Regions from separate parts of the Homo sapiens genome. Here all the other regions are linked to region 1. Evidence: promoter capture Hi-C in 16 types of primary human blood cells and fetal thymus (Javierre and others, 2016). All regions are on one chromosome and are shown on one strand. Each heading gives the region's core, a stretch centred on a gene start or on the middle of the fragment in contact. The rest is flanking DNA. Distances are from core to core; before and after follow the strand shown. Region 1 holds the start of CAMK1D (calcium/calmodulin dependent protein kinase ID). Region 2 has its middle 46 kb from the start of CCDC3. Region 3 has its middle 8.5 kb from the start of OPTN.

Evidence for each region. Contacts are between HindIII fragments. The CHiCAGO score rates a contact against its expected background, and 5 or more counts as called.
Region 2: a fragment that was not itself captured here is called in contact with the fragment with the promoter of CAMK1D in region 1 in 1 of 17 cell types (endothelial precursors); the score reaches 5.5 in endothelial precursors.
Region 3: a contact is called between a fragment that was not itself captured here and the fragment with the promoter of CAMK1D in region 1, in 1 of 17 cell types (erythroblasts). The highest score is 6.7, in erythroblasts.

The regions. Positions count from the first base shown.
Region 1 is chr10:12,347,942-12,352,425 of GRCh38, reverse strand. CAMK1D (calcium/calmodulin dependent protein kinase ID) reads right to left here and starts at 2,879. Exons shown (of 11, transcript NM_153498.4): 1 at 2,516-2,879. The coding sequence starts at 2,607. RefSeq lists enhancers at 1,731-1,890, 2,065-2,564 and silencers at 2,601-2,690, 2,861-3,420, 3,461-3,720. The HindIII fragment of the contact is 10,581 bases long and covers 1-4,484 here.
Region 2 is chr10:13,045,556-13,049,913 of GRCh38, reverse strand. It overlaps a transcript of CCDC3 not described here. Among named protein-coding and RNA genes, the nearest start is that of CCDC3, 46 kb to the right of the region's middle. The HindIII fragment of the contact is 691 bases long and covers 1,758-2,448 here.
Region 3 is chr10:13,089,557-13,093,863 of GRCh38, reverse strand. It overlaps a transcript of CCDC3 not described here. Among named protein-coding and RNA genes, the nearest start is that of OPTN, 8.5 kb to the left of the region's middle. The HindIII fragment of the contact is 1,187 bases long and covers 2,160-3,346 here.

The DNA.
Region 1 (4,484 bases), core at 1,630-4,129:
TGTTGGCCAGGCTGGTCTCGAACTCCTGACTTAAGTGATCAGCTCGCCTCAGCCTCCCAAAGTGTTGGGATTACAGGTGTGAGCCACCACGCCCAGCCCATTATGTTTTCTTTACATTAATATTAAAGTTCGCGTTCCAAATACTAAAGTTAAGTCAAATTATTGACTAAGCATTGGCCATTACAGGATCTACAAAGTGTGTCAACCCTGTATGGACAATCAAAAGTTGCTCTGCCTATCTGTGAATACCAGCTCCGCCACTTAATAGTTAGCTAAGGTTTGGTAGCTCACATAATTATCTCTGCTGCCTTAGTTTTCTCATCTGCAAATTGGGTGTAATGGTAAATACCTACCTCATAAGGTTACTCTGAGATTTAAATGAGTTAATACACATAAGGCACGTAGAATAATACCTGATCCTGGGTATACATTTCAGAATACCACCTATGATTACCATGATTATTATGTGGAGTAAAAACATCTTGATCATCACACTGTTTCTATCATTCTTCTAGGTCCAATGCCAGTGCTACAGTGGGAAGCTCCTTTGCAAAGAATTCCATCCCAGGCAGAAGGCAATGCTTTAGGACCCTAAGAGAGACCCATTCCCAAAGCTCACAGGGAACATGGCTGGAGTCCAAGAGGCTGTTCTGCCAGAGAAGCGCTCTGGCACCAGAGGGCAAATCCCCATTTTTCCCCAAGGTGGAAACCACCCACAGTCATCTCCAAACACCATGCTCCAGCAGGAGCCACAGCTTGGAGCCTCAGCAGCCCCGCCACTGCAGAGGTGCAGCTGCACGAGTCAGTCAGGGGACAGGGCATCAGTCACCCGGAGGCTACAGGCAGGAAGCCAGTGTGGGGGGCTCGGGTGGGAACAAGCCACGGACAGGAAAGCATTCACACAGGGTGGGTCCCCATGCTCTCCCATCTCCTCATTGGCGGCCACAGTGCGGGTCCTGGATGACAAGCAAAGGCCATGCTTTCTTGTCTCTCAGTAACTTGAGCATCTCAGAATCACAACCCCAAACCCGAATAAACCTCAGTGGCAATTTTCAAAAGTTTTGACCCAAACTAACCCCTTACCTGGCTGCACTAAGAGGCAACCCCAAACCCCTATTTATTAAAAAGCTACATCTTTTTCTGTTTTCATTCCAACAAAGATAGCAAATAGGTGCCCTCCCTGAAAGGCAACAACCACAGCAGGGAGACCCCACTCTAGTCCTCAGCGTGCGCCTTCCCGGGAATCAGAAGCAGGACTGGGAAAGCCACCCTCACAACTTCTCTCCGGGGGACCCCCTGCAGATCTGCGTGGGGGTGAGGGGAAATGACTGAACAGCAGCAGACGCCGAGCCTGGAGGTGAAGACAAGCTGGGTAATGTGGTGCTGGAAAAAAGAAACCAAGCACAAAAACAAGCACACGGAAAAAAAGGAGGAAGGAAAGAAAGGGCACCCAACAACGCACTGATTTATCCCATGAAATAGCTCCCCTTTCTCTTCCCAGCCTAATCAACACCTCCATGAACCCCTGCAAAATGGGCATTTCTGACTGCACACCTGTGCGTGAATCCACACTGACAGATACTGATGCAGAGCAAATACTGATTGTGTGAGGGAAGGAAATAACTTGAACTTCAGACTCATTCGGCAGGTCCTGATTCTCTTTCACTATCAGCCTCCCCACCTATTCTGAGCCGCTCCGAAACAAAACAAACAAGACCCAACTCCTGGGCAGAAAGGGAACAGCAGCTGAGCTGAGCAGCACATGCTTGGAGCGTTCCTGCCATCGACTTCGGATTATTTCTGCTTTCTTGAGACACAGCCATCAGCATGGGACTCGATGCAGCCCGGAGAGAGCACCGCCCGCGCAGCGACGCGCACAGACCCTCCCTTGGAGACGCGCTCCCCGGCGCGTGCGGCCGAGCCCGCGTGAAATGCACAGACCCTCCGGTGAGGCTCTGCCCACGTGTGACCCTGAGCACTGCGAAGCCCTTCCCTTCCATCCTCGCGTGGCCACCCAAAGTCTTGCCTACACCTCGTACGTGCAGATGCCAATTCCATAGAAATACATGATGTAAGGACAGAAATGGGAACGACTGGAGGCTGATCTTCTCGTGACCACGTCTCGCCAACGCGGTGCGCCCATGCACACGGCGAGTAAACGCACACAGCCGGTAAACAGCCATCCCCACCATGCTCAGCCCACAGTCACGCGTGGGGAGAAGGCAGCGGAGAGGGCGGCGGTGGCAGGAGAAGTGGGAAGTCGCGCGCCCGCGTGGGCTGCTCCCTGACAGCCCGGCGCTGCCCCCTCCCCCTCCCGGGAACGGCGCCCACCCGGGGGTCGCAGGCCCACGCGTCGGGCGCGCTCGGGGGGGCTCCGCAGCGCCGAGAACGGGACAATGAGGACGCGGTGACAGGCTGGGTTTCTGCCGCGGTAGTGGCGGCGGCGGCAGCTGGAGCTGCCCGTGCAGCCCCTGCCGCGGCCACCTCCACCCTCGCCTCCCCGGTCCCCACTTACGTTCCGAGGGTCTCTTTGAACTCGAAGATCTTCTTGATGTCTTCAGCTTGCTTTTTCCAGGAGGAGCTGCTCTCGCCGTTCTCCCGGGCCATGGCCGACGAGCGCGGCGCGGAGGAGCGGCCGGGGGCGCGCTGGGGAGGGGGCGCCGGGGGCGCGGCGCGGGCGCAGAGGCGGCGGGGATGCCGGGCGGCTCGGGCTGCGGCGCAGCTTCCTCCTCTGCAGTTTCCTCTTTCGCTCTCGCCGCCGCCGCCGCGGCCGCGGTCCCTCCCTGGCTCTTATTTCTGCTGTTCTCGGGCACAGACTTCCTGCCGCCGCCGCGCGCCGGCTCCTTTGCCGCCGCCTGCCAGCCTCACTTTCTGCTACTTTCTTGCCTCCCTCCCGCTCCCTCCCTGCCGCCCGCCGCGCTCCCCCCCACCTCGCGCCTCCTCCCCCTCCTCCCCCTCCTCCCCCTCCCGCGGGCTCCCCGCCCTCTCCGTGCGCCCCGGCCGCTCCCCGCCTCCAGCGCGCCGCCTTCGGGGATGTCCCGCTCCCCTCCCAAGAGCGCCGGGCCACGGCCGTCGTGCCCCCTGGAGCCCCGGCGAGGGCGGGTACGGGCCCCCGGCAGGTGCGGGGCGCACGCGGGAGAGCCCCAGCCCCTCCGGGAGCTGGAAACGGAGCCCAGTCTGGGGGCGCCGGGGCTTTCCCGTCTCCGGCGGGAGGGGGCGCCTCTGCGTGGCTCGGAAGCGCCGGGCGGGCGGGGGTGCGCGGCGGCCGGATGCGGGGCGCCGAGGGCGGGGCGCCTTCCCGCGCTGTGGCCTGTGGCCCGGGGGACCCGAGGGGCAAGGCGTGGGGTGGGGGGGGTGGGGGCCGGTTGTTATGGCGACGGGCGGCGGCGGCGGCTGGGATGGAGGCGGAGGCGGGCGGGAGCTCATTCGCATTGCACCAAATCGGTTTCACGTCAGTTTCGGGACAGACCCGCGAGGAGCAAGCCGGGGAGCCTCTGGGCGGGTACGCGCAGGACGCGCCAGCAGCTGCCTCGTGGTCCCTTTGCGAGCAAAACTCCCGGGGGTGTTTGGCAGCCGCGCGGGCGCCCTGGTGCTGGGCTGGAGCGGCCGGCGGGCCTGGCCGGCCTGGTTGCCCTGGCTCACGCTTGGCCCCTTCTGGCATCTCCCTGTCTCCTCCCAGAGACTCAGTGGAAAGAAGTGATCGTCTGCCCCGCAGTCCCCTCGAAGGAGGAGCCCACCCGCGGCTGGCTTAGTAGGGTGTCCGGGTTGCGGGGCAGGCACCTGCTTTCCTATGGACTGCCAAAACTAACCCAGAGAATTCCCTCCGGACTCCCATCTCCCAGCTGTACTTTGGCCTGCCCGCCCCACTCCTGGTGTCCACCTGTCAGAGGGCAGCCCACGTGCTCCAGTTCCCTGGTCCCCAACCTGCAGGGGCGACCTCTTGATCGGAAAATTTTAGATTTCTTGGTATCAACACTTCGCCTCCCTCAGGGCCTCTCCTCGTAGTTGGGTAAACAGCTCTGTCTCTTGACTGGGGACACCTGTCCCATTTTCCCAGGACTGTTCCAATTTCACTGTAAAAGGAAAAAAAAAATCTGCTCCCTGAATAGGAAACTTCATCCAGCACCTTGTGCCTAGTTCTGACTCTGGCTGAAGTGGAGGCAGCCCAGCTGCTCTCCCTCAGCCCCTACTCTGACCCTAAAGAGGTCAGACGACACCCTGGCATCCCCATTCCTGGGACCTCCATGCTAGTTTCCATCTTTCAAAGACGGTTAGCTTAAGGTTTTCCAAACTGAGAAGAGCAAAGAGGGGATTTACTTGCCGGTTAGATGTAGAATAAATCCACAAACCCAATTTCCAACACGGATGGGTGAGAAGAATTACTAAGGAACCTCTCTTATACTTGAGGCACATTACCAAAGTTCAAGGCAAACAGCATCCCCTTCAATAAGAAACATTTGAAAAACTATCATGTATTTTACTTG
Region 2 (4,358 bases), core at 854-3,353, 700 kb before region 1:
AAATATTGTTTCTTTTTCTTGGGAAATTGGCAGAGGCATGCTGAAGAAATCAGCTACAGCTGTTCTCCACACCTGGATAAATTTTTAATAAGAACTTAACACACCCGCCCTCCAGAAAGGGTGGTCTGAGGTGTCGATGGTGTTGTCTCTCCCAGGGCTCTTCTGGGCAGCCTTCTCTGTGACCTGGAGAGCGAAGAGTCTATTTCCATCACATTTCAGCTGCCAAACTCCCCTTTAAACGTAAGTAAGCCATTTGATTTCTGCTGCCTTTGTTTTCCCATAAAAGGGCGTTTAAAAAAATATAATTCTCCAAGAAATCTCTAGTTGTTTTGAAATAAAAAGTTACTTTTCGCTCTTCATCTCATTTATTCCAGCTATTCTCTGCTTTGCCCTCCTTGGTTTGTGGAGCCTCATACAAATTCATTAGTACTTTTCCAGCGTCACAGGTTGGAACTGAGGGTTCCAAAGAGCAAAATGCATTTTGGCTGAAGCAGAGCCAGGAATCCATGTTGTTTGCCATTGGCGCCATCCAATTCACTTGTTCTGAATAAGGGAATAAAGTTAATATTTATTCCCTTCATGATTCTTGTATTTCAAGAAAAAAAAGTGCTCTACAGGCTTTTTCCCCCCAGCAGGTACTGATTGATTTGTTTGAATTTTGAGCTGCAATCAAGGATGGAGAATCTAACTGATCTCCTTATTCACCAAATATTTATGATTTGTGCATAGAATATTGACTAATCTCTAATGTGCAGTCTTCTTGATGAAAAGGGAAGGGATAGCTGGGGCTCGTTATTGTGTCTCTTCAGTGGATTAGAGAGATTAGATGCCTAAGATGTCCCAAAGCCTGTATCGAGTCAGGTGATCTGATCCTCATTCCCATGAACAACTTAGGAGGCCTCCCTCTCCAGTTGTGACACTTGGAATTTGTATGCTCATCTTCATCATGACTATGTAGCCAACTCTTGGTGTTGTGCAATGAAAAATGGAAAATATAAGCCAGATGATTAAAAAAAAGACCACGTGGCTCTAGGTATGATGAAAGACAGGCATATGTTTTCAGACACAATCTCCCTCTCTCTTACACACACTCCTTACTCTTAAATATTTGGATTTTTTACTTTACATCTAATTTTAATCCCTTCTCAGCTGGCACCATACTATTGATGACCAGGGGACCCACAGGGACAGCTAGCGACCTGCCAAGTTGACTCATCTGCTTGTGGAGGTAACACTTAGGAAACACCTTCAAGTTCCTGTCTGCAGTGGGTGTTGCCCAAAGTGAATATCATAGAAACCTCCCAATTATATGAGAGTCTCCATCTAAAAGTGAATGGCATCAATAGGAAAGTAGCATTTTCTGAATAGGTAACAGAATCCGTAAAGTGCAAGTGTAAAAGGAGAATAAAAACTTGGGACCCTGGCCAGGTGCAGTGGCTCACACCTGTAATCCCAGCACTTTGGGAGGCCGAGGTGGGCAGATCACAAGGTCAGGAAATCAAGACTGTCCTGGCCAACATGGTGAAACCCCGTCTCTAGTAAAAATACAAAAAAATTAGCCAGGTGTGGTGGTGCGCACCTGTAGTCCCTGCTACTAGGGAGGCTGAGGCAGGAGAATTGCTTGAACCTGGGAGGCAGAGGCTGCAGTGAGCTGAGATCGCGCCACTGCACTCCAGTCTGGCAACAGAGCGAGACTCCGTCTAAAAAAAAATAATTGGGACCTCAATTCACTCTGCCAAAAGAAAAAAAATTAAGCTTAAAGCAGAGTCATGCAAGAAGCTACCTTTTCTTTTGTTCCTAAGATAGCTATGGATAAAATACAAAACATCCCCGCAGATAGTTACTCAATTCACCTTACATTGCGCGTGAGGTGCATACATAATTGACTATTCCCCTACTTGCTCCTTTTCTCTTGCAACGTGTGGATTCAGTCATGTGACCATATCCTTCCTCCTTTCCCTCCAGCCTGCTTTCCCCCTTTAAGCCCTCAAAATCGTCTTTGGAGAAAGGCAGAGACCACAGACTGTTTCTGGGACTCCATGTTTATTTCTTCCGGCGCGTCCCTAACCTTGGCAAAATAAACTTCTAAGTTGATTGAGACCTGTCTCAGATGCTTTTTGGTTCACACAAGAAAACAAACCGATCTCAGGCCTTAGTCCCTCTGGAGAGCTTTAGAGAGGCCCATGGCTAACAGGAATCACCCAGGTCTCATAGGGAGGGCACGGATGGAGATCCAGCTTGCAGTTGCCAGGACCACACTGGGCTCCGGAGCAGATTACTGAAGTCTCTTTATATGTACCCAGGCATTCTGTGTGAAAGAAGGAGGCGGGAGGGGAGAGCCAGGTTAGTTTGGGAAATTTTGCATTACACAAAATTAAGCAGGTTTCTTTAGTCTTTGCTATGCAGATTTTATTGTGAATCTGTAAGAGGCAGAAAGAATAGAAAGCTTTCCCCAAACTTTTTGTCCTGAGAATCCCTTTTTCCTGGGGATCCCTAACATTTCAAAGGGCACTGTGATCCACAAAGCCCAGGCTGGAGAGAGCCACCCGGAGATGTCAAGGAAGCTCCAGCTGCCGGTCTGTCACCAGCTCCATGGAGACTCACCTACCAGTTTAATGGGGACTTTTCAAACCCATGGGCTTCAAATTTGGGTATGCCCATCTTCAGGGTCACAAGAGGACTTTCTAAGGCTACACAGGTACATGGTTTTTGTTCTTTTTAAATTCTGGGTCCACAATTTCCATGCGTTCTTTCCTATAATTGTTCTGGTGAGAACTGAATGGCGATGAGCCATTGCCGCTAAATGGAGTCTCTCTGTTCTGTCTCCTCTTTCGTAACAGCTGCTTCATAAATGCAAAACATCCCTCACCCTCTCTCATCTTACTAGGGTGCATTGCCCCAGGGTGAACAGATATCTGGGTTGCCAGACAAATTGCTGGATTGGCTTCTTCTTTTTTTTTTTTTTTAGAAAGTGAATGATTCTATTGACTAAGTAATAAATCTTTTTGCAGATCAGATGATTTCTAATTCTTTGCTTTCATGAAATTTGAGAGGAGACCTAATTGAGTTGTCAGAGAATTAGATCATTAAATATTTTCGATGATAGATCACTGTATCTGAAGGAGCTTGAGTAATAATTGATACTGCTTGATAAAATTGCTTCCATTCTTGTCTACTTCTTCTTCTTCTTCTTTTTTTTTTTTTTTGAGACGGAGTTTCGCTCTTGTTGCCCAGGCGGGAGTGCAATGGCCCGGTCTCAGCTTACTGCAACCTCCGCCTCCCAGGTTCAAGCAATTCTCCTGCCTCAGCCTCCTGAGTAGCTGGGATTACAGGCATGCCCCACCACACCTGGCTAATTTTTTTTTGTATTTTTAGTAGAGATGGGGTTTCACCACATTGGCCAGGCTGGTCTTGAACTCCTGACATCAGGTGATCCACCTCGGCCTCCCAAAGTGCTGGGATTACAGGCATGAGCCACCGCACCTGGCCTTTTTTTTTTTCTTTTTTTGAGACAGGGTCTTGCTCTGTTGCCCAGGCTGGAATGAAGTGACGCGATCACGGCTCACTGCAGCCTCATACTCCTGGGCTCAAGGGATGCTCCCAACTCAGCCTCCCTAGCAACTGGGACTACAGGTGTGAGTCATCATGCCCAGCTAATGTTTTTATTTGTTGTAGAGATGAGGTCTCACTATGTTGCCCAAGCTGGTCTCTAACTCCTGGGCTGAAGCAATCCTCCTGCCTTGGCCTCCCAAGGTGCTGGGATTACAGGAATGAGCAACCATGCCCAGCTTATGTACTTCTTTTTTTGTTTTGTTTTGTTTTGGAGATGGAGTCTCACTCTGTCACCCAGGCTGGAGTCCAGTGGCACGATCTCAGCTTACTGCAACCTCTGCCTCCTGGGGTTCAAGTGCTTCTCCTGCCTCAGCCTTCCTGAGTAGCTGGGATTTCAGGTGCATGCCACCGCACCCGGCTAATTTTTGTATTTTTCCTAGAGATGGGGTTTCACCAACTTGGCCTGGCTGGTCTTGAACTCTTGACCTCATGATCCCCCCATCTCGGCCTCCCAAAGTGCTGGGATTACAGGCGTGAGCTGCTGCTCCTGGCCGCTTATATACTTCTTTACATGAAAAAAGTTTTATAGTGCTTACGGTAGCAGTAGCAACAATAATTGTAAAATGAGAAAAATGTTGATGAGGACCCTGCCTATTTTAGTAAGAAGTGGAATGAAGAATAGTTTCCCCAATAAAATTCTAATTTTTATGTTATGTATATATATTTTGTTTGTTTGTTTGTTTTGAGGCAGAGTCTTGCTCTGTTGCCCAGGCTGGAGTACGGTGGTGCAATCTTGGCTGACTGCA
Region 3 (4,307 bases), core at 1,504-4,003, 740 kb before region 1:
TTTTAGACATAGTTTTAGCTTCTTTGGATTAAATAATTGATCAGTAGTAGGAAAGTACAAGTGATTTGTCTTTTTTCCATCTCACTTATTTTTTTTCCAAACTAAGGTGTCTCACTTCTCTGAAAAAGTGCATGGTGGAGTGAGGGAGGACACAGAGACCTGGGTATCAGGCTACCTCGGCCCTACCTGAGAACTCACCCCTAGGCCTTGACCTCTTCATCAGTGAGGGAAGTCAGGGGCTAAGATAGATAACCTCTTAGCTTCTCTCCAGCTTGAAAAAAATTAGAATTTGTTTTTCATTTCTTATATTTGGTATACAATTTTAGTAGATGCCAAATTAATTTGAATTTAAGCCTCTTCCTTCTGTAGAGGTTGACTTAATACTTGGCTGGTGATATGGTTTGGCTGTGTCCCCACCCAAATCTCATCTTGAATTGTAGCTTCCATAATTCCCGTGTGTTGTGGGAGGGACCTGGTGGGAGATAATTGAATCATGGGGGTGTTTTCCTCCATACTGTTCTCATGGTAGTGAATAAGTCTCACGAGATGTGATGGTTTTATAAGGGGAAACCCCTTTCACTTGGTTCTCATTCTCTCTCTTGCCTGCCGCCATGTAAGATGTGCTTTTCGCCTTCCGCTATGATTGTGAGGCCTCCCCAGCCACGTGGAACTGTGAGTCCATTAAACCTCTTTTTCTTTATAAATCACCCAGTATCAGGTATATCTTTATCAGCAGCATGAAAACAGACTAATACAGCTGGTTAAATTGTCATAAATGATTTTGCGGTTTGAAAAGTCAGTAACTCCTTTGTTTTTGAAAAAAAAAAAAAAAAAAAAGGTGAGGGGTTCATACATGACTTTCCACTAGATCACAATACACCTGCCTTAGCTAGATTGTCTGTGCCTTTTATACCCACGAAAAGTCAACATTTCTCTCACCAGGTTGCCTTGACCCTTTTCGGCTTTGCGGGCAGAGTTCCTGCTCCCCTGTTATAGGCCAGGAGACAGTCATTAAATTTGTAGGCACATTGCATTGTCTTCTGGAGCAGTAACACAGATTTCTGGGCGGCTGGTCTCATCAGATCTGCACAGCTGGATGCCAGCAACATTTTGCTTCTTTCTTTCCTAAGGCCTATGGTTCACTTCTCCAGCTGCTATATCTTTAAATTTTGCAACTGGTCACCCCTGTGTTATTCCTGACCTCATCCATTCCTTTTTCTGAATCTACTGGGAGCCAGGGGAGAAGATGCCTTAGGTCACACGGGGGTTACTCCAATGTGAGTTAGCTTTACAGAAAGCAATTCTTACCAAGTTAATTTGATCTGACCCAAGGGAGGCAGAAAGAAATCCCAGTCATAACAGACTTCTTGCAGAGACAATTGGATATTCATGGACTATTATGGCAAAGGTGGCCAAGTTTTGAAGGGTTGGCTGTGAAAACTCCTAGAGGAAGATCTGTTAGTGAACTTGGAAGCACTTAGGCAGTATTTCCCATTGCAACGATTTCAGAGACTTCAAAAGCTGATCTTACATAAATTTAGAACTTTCCCATTCACTGTGTCTTATTATAATTCTGGGAAGTGGCTCCATTCTGTTTATTATAGAAACAAGAGAAGAGTCTCTGTGAATCTTTTTATAAAATGATTTCCTGTCTACCTTGGTTCCCATACTCACGAATTGTTTAATTCACCTTCAGCACAAAAGTATATTTTAGTTGATTCTGGCTTGGTTGGCTCAAGCGAACTTTCTTTGTATGTTCACAGTGTGCCCGCCTCCACCACCTTTGCTGCAGCTATCTGCACCCTGCACTCTTTCTTCTTTGCTCTTATCTGCCACCCTCCCCTCTCCTCCCACCATCAGCCCTTTTCACTGCAAGGCTGTATGACACAACATTGACACTTTGGTGTCCTTTCAATTTCAGGTGGCATCTTTCCAGAGCCTCTGGCATTTAGGATTATTTCTAATTCTGCAATAAAAACCTTGTCTGCCAAAGGGATTTCAGGATCTGCCAGCAAGGAGGAATTTTTTTTTTTTTTTTTTTTTGGATTGGGCTTTTCTCAGTAAGCTTGAAATCAGACACTTAGGGAACTTCCATCTTGGCTACAAAAAAAGGTTATGTATTTGACTCTGTTATTTAAAAGGGGTTATGCTTGGAAGCTTTTATGCAGATGGAGGGGAGAGAACTTTAGGATGATGAGATGTACCTGAGGAGATGAAGGGAGTTGTTGAAGGCGAACATTTCTGCGTTGGGCGACTGAATGGAGGGTAGCAGTATTAGCTGAGATGGTGTTTTTGTCCATCCTGGCTGTTATAACAAAATACCATAAACAGAGTGGCTTATAAATAGAAATTGATTTCTCACAGTTCTGGAGGCTGGGAAGTCCAAGATCAAGGCACTGGCAGTGTCTGGTGAGGGCCTGCCTCCTGGTTCATAGACATCATCTTGCAGTGTCCTCATGTGGTGGAAGGGTTGATGCAGCTCTCTGGGGTCTCTTTCATGAGGGCACTAATCTCATTTGTGAGGGCTCTCCTCTCATGACCTAATCACCCCCCAAAAGGCTTCACCTCCTGTGATGGCTAATATTGAGTGTCAACTTGATCAGATTGAAGGATGCAAAATATTGTTTCTGGGTATGTCTGTGAGTGGGTTGCCAGAGGATATTAAGATTTGCTTCAGTGGACTGGGAGAGGCAGGCCCACCCTCAATCTGGGTGGGCACCATCCAGTTGGTTGCCAGTGAGGCTAGAAAAAGCAGGCAGAAGAAGGTGGAAGGGCAGACTTGCTGAGTCTTCCAGACTTCATCTTTCTCCTGTGCTGGATGCTTCCTGCCCTTGAACATCAGACTCCAAGTTCTTCGGCCCTTGGACTCTAGGACTTACTGCAGTGGTTTGCTGGGGGCTCTCAGGCTTTTGGCCACAGACTGAAGGCTGCACTGTCAGCTTCCCTACTTTTGAGGCTTTGGGACTTGGACTGAGCCACTACTGGCTTCCTTGCTCCTCAGCTTCCAGACAGCCTGTCATGGGACTTCACCCTGTGATCGTGTGAGTCAATTCTCCTTAATAAACTCCCTTCAATATATGCATCTGTCCTTTTACTTCTGTCCCTCTAGAGAACCCTGACTAATAACACCTCCTAATACCCTCACCTGCCGGTGAGGATTTCAATCTATGGATTTTGGGAGGACACAAACATTTAGACCCTAGCAGATGAGAAACCCAGGACAGGCAGCTGCCCTGGGGGAAGGAGATTAGTTCTGAGTAACTTGCATTACTTGTGGGATAGGTGAATGAAGAGGTCCACACCTATTTGGAAAAATGGGCCTGAACCTCAGGATAGAGATTAAGCTTGGAAATATGGACTTAGTCCTTCTCAGAGACCTCCTCTAAAAGGGCTGAATTCTAGCACAATTTGCAATTGCAAAAATGTGGAACCAACCCAAATGCCCATCAATCAATGAGTGGATAAAGAAATGGTATGGCCAGGTGCGGTGGCTCAAACCTGTAATCCTAGCACTTTGGGAGGCCAAGGCAGGTGGATAACGAGGTCAGGAGATCAAGACAATCTGGCCAACATGGTGAAACCTTGTCTCTCCTAAAATACAAAATAAATTAGCTAGGCATGGTGGCACGCACCTGTAGTCCCAGCTACTTGGGAGGCTGAGGCAGGGGACTCGCTTGAACCTAGGTGGTGGAGATTGCAGTGAGCTGAGATCACACCACCGCACTCCAGCCTGGTGACAGAATGAGACTCTGACACAAAAAAAAAAAAAAAAGAAAGAAACGGTGATATATATATATATATATATATATATATATATATATATATATATCTAACGGAATACTACTCAGCCATAAAAAGGAATGAATTAATGGTATTTGCAGCAACCTGGATGAGATTGGAGGCTATTATTCTAAGTGAAGTAACTCAGGCATGGAAAACCAAACATCGTATGTTCTCACTCACAGCAGTGAGGATGCAATGGCGTAAGAATGACACAATGGACTTTGGGAACTCACGGAGAAAGGGTGGGAGGGGGGTGGGGGATAAAAGGCTACAAATTGGGTGCAGTGTCCACTGCTCGGGTGATGGGAGCACCAAAATCTCACAAACCACCAGTAAAAAACTTATCCCTGTAACCAAACACCACCTGCTCCCCAATAACCTTTGGAAATAAAAAAATTAAAATTTAAATTTAAAAAAATGGCTGAATTCTAGAGAATTCCTCCAATTTAAGGGGGGGTGCTGAAAGAAAATAAAAAGTTGGAGAGGAGAGAAGAGGGAGCATCCAGATAAGAGAAAGCGAAACT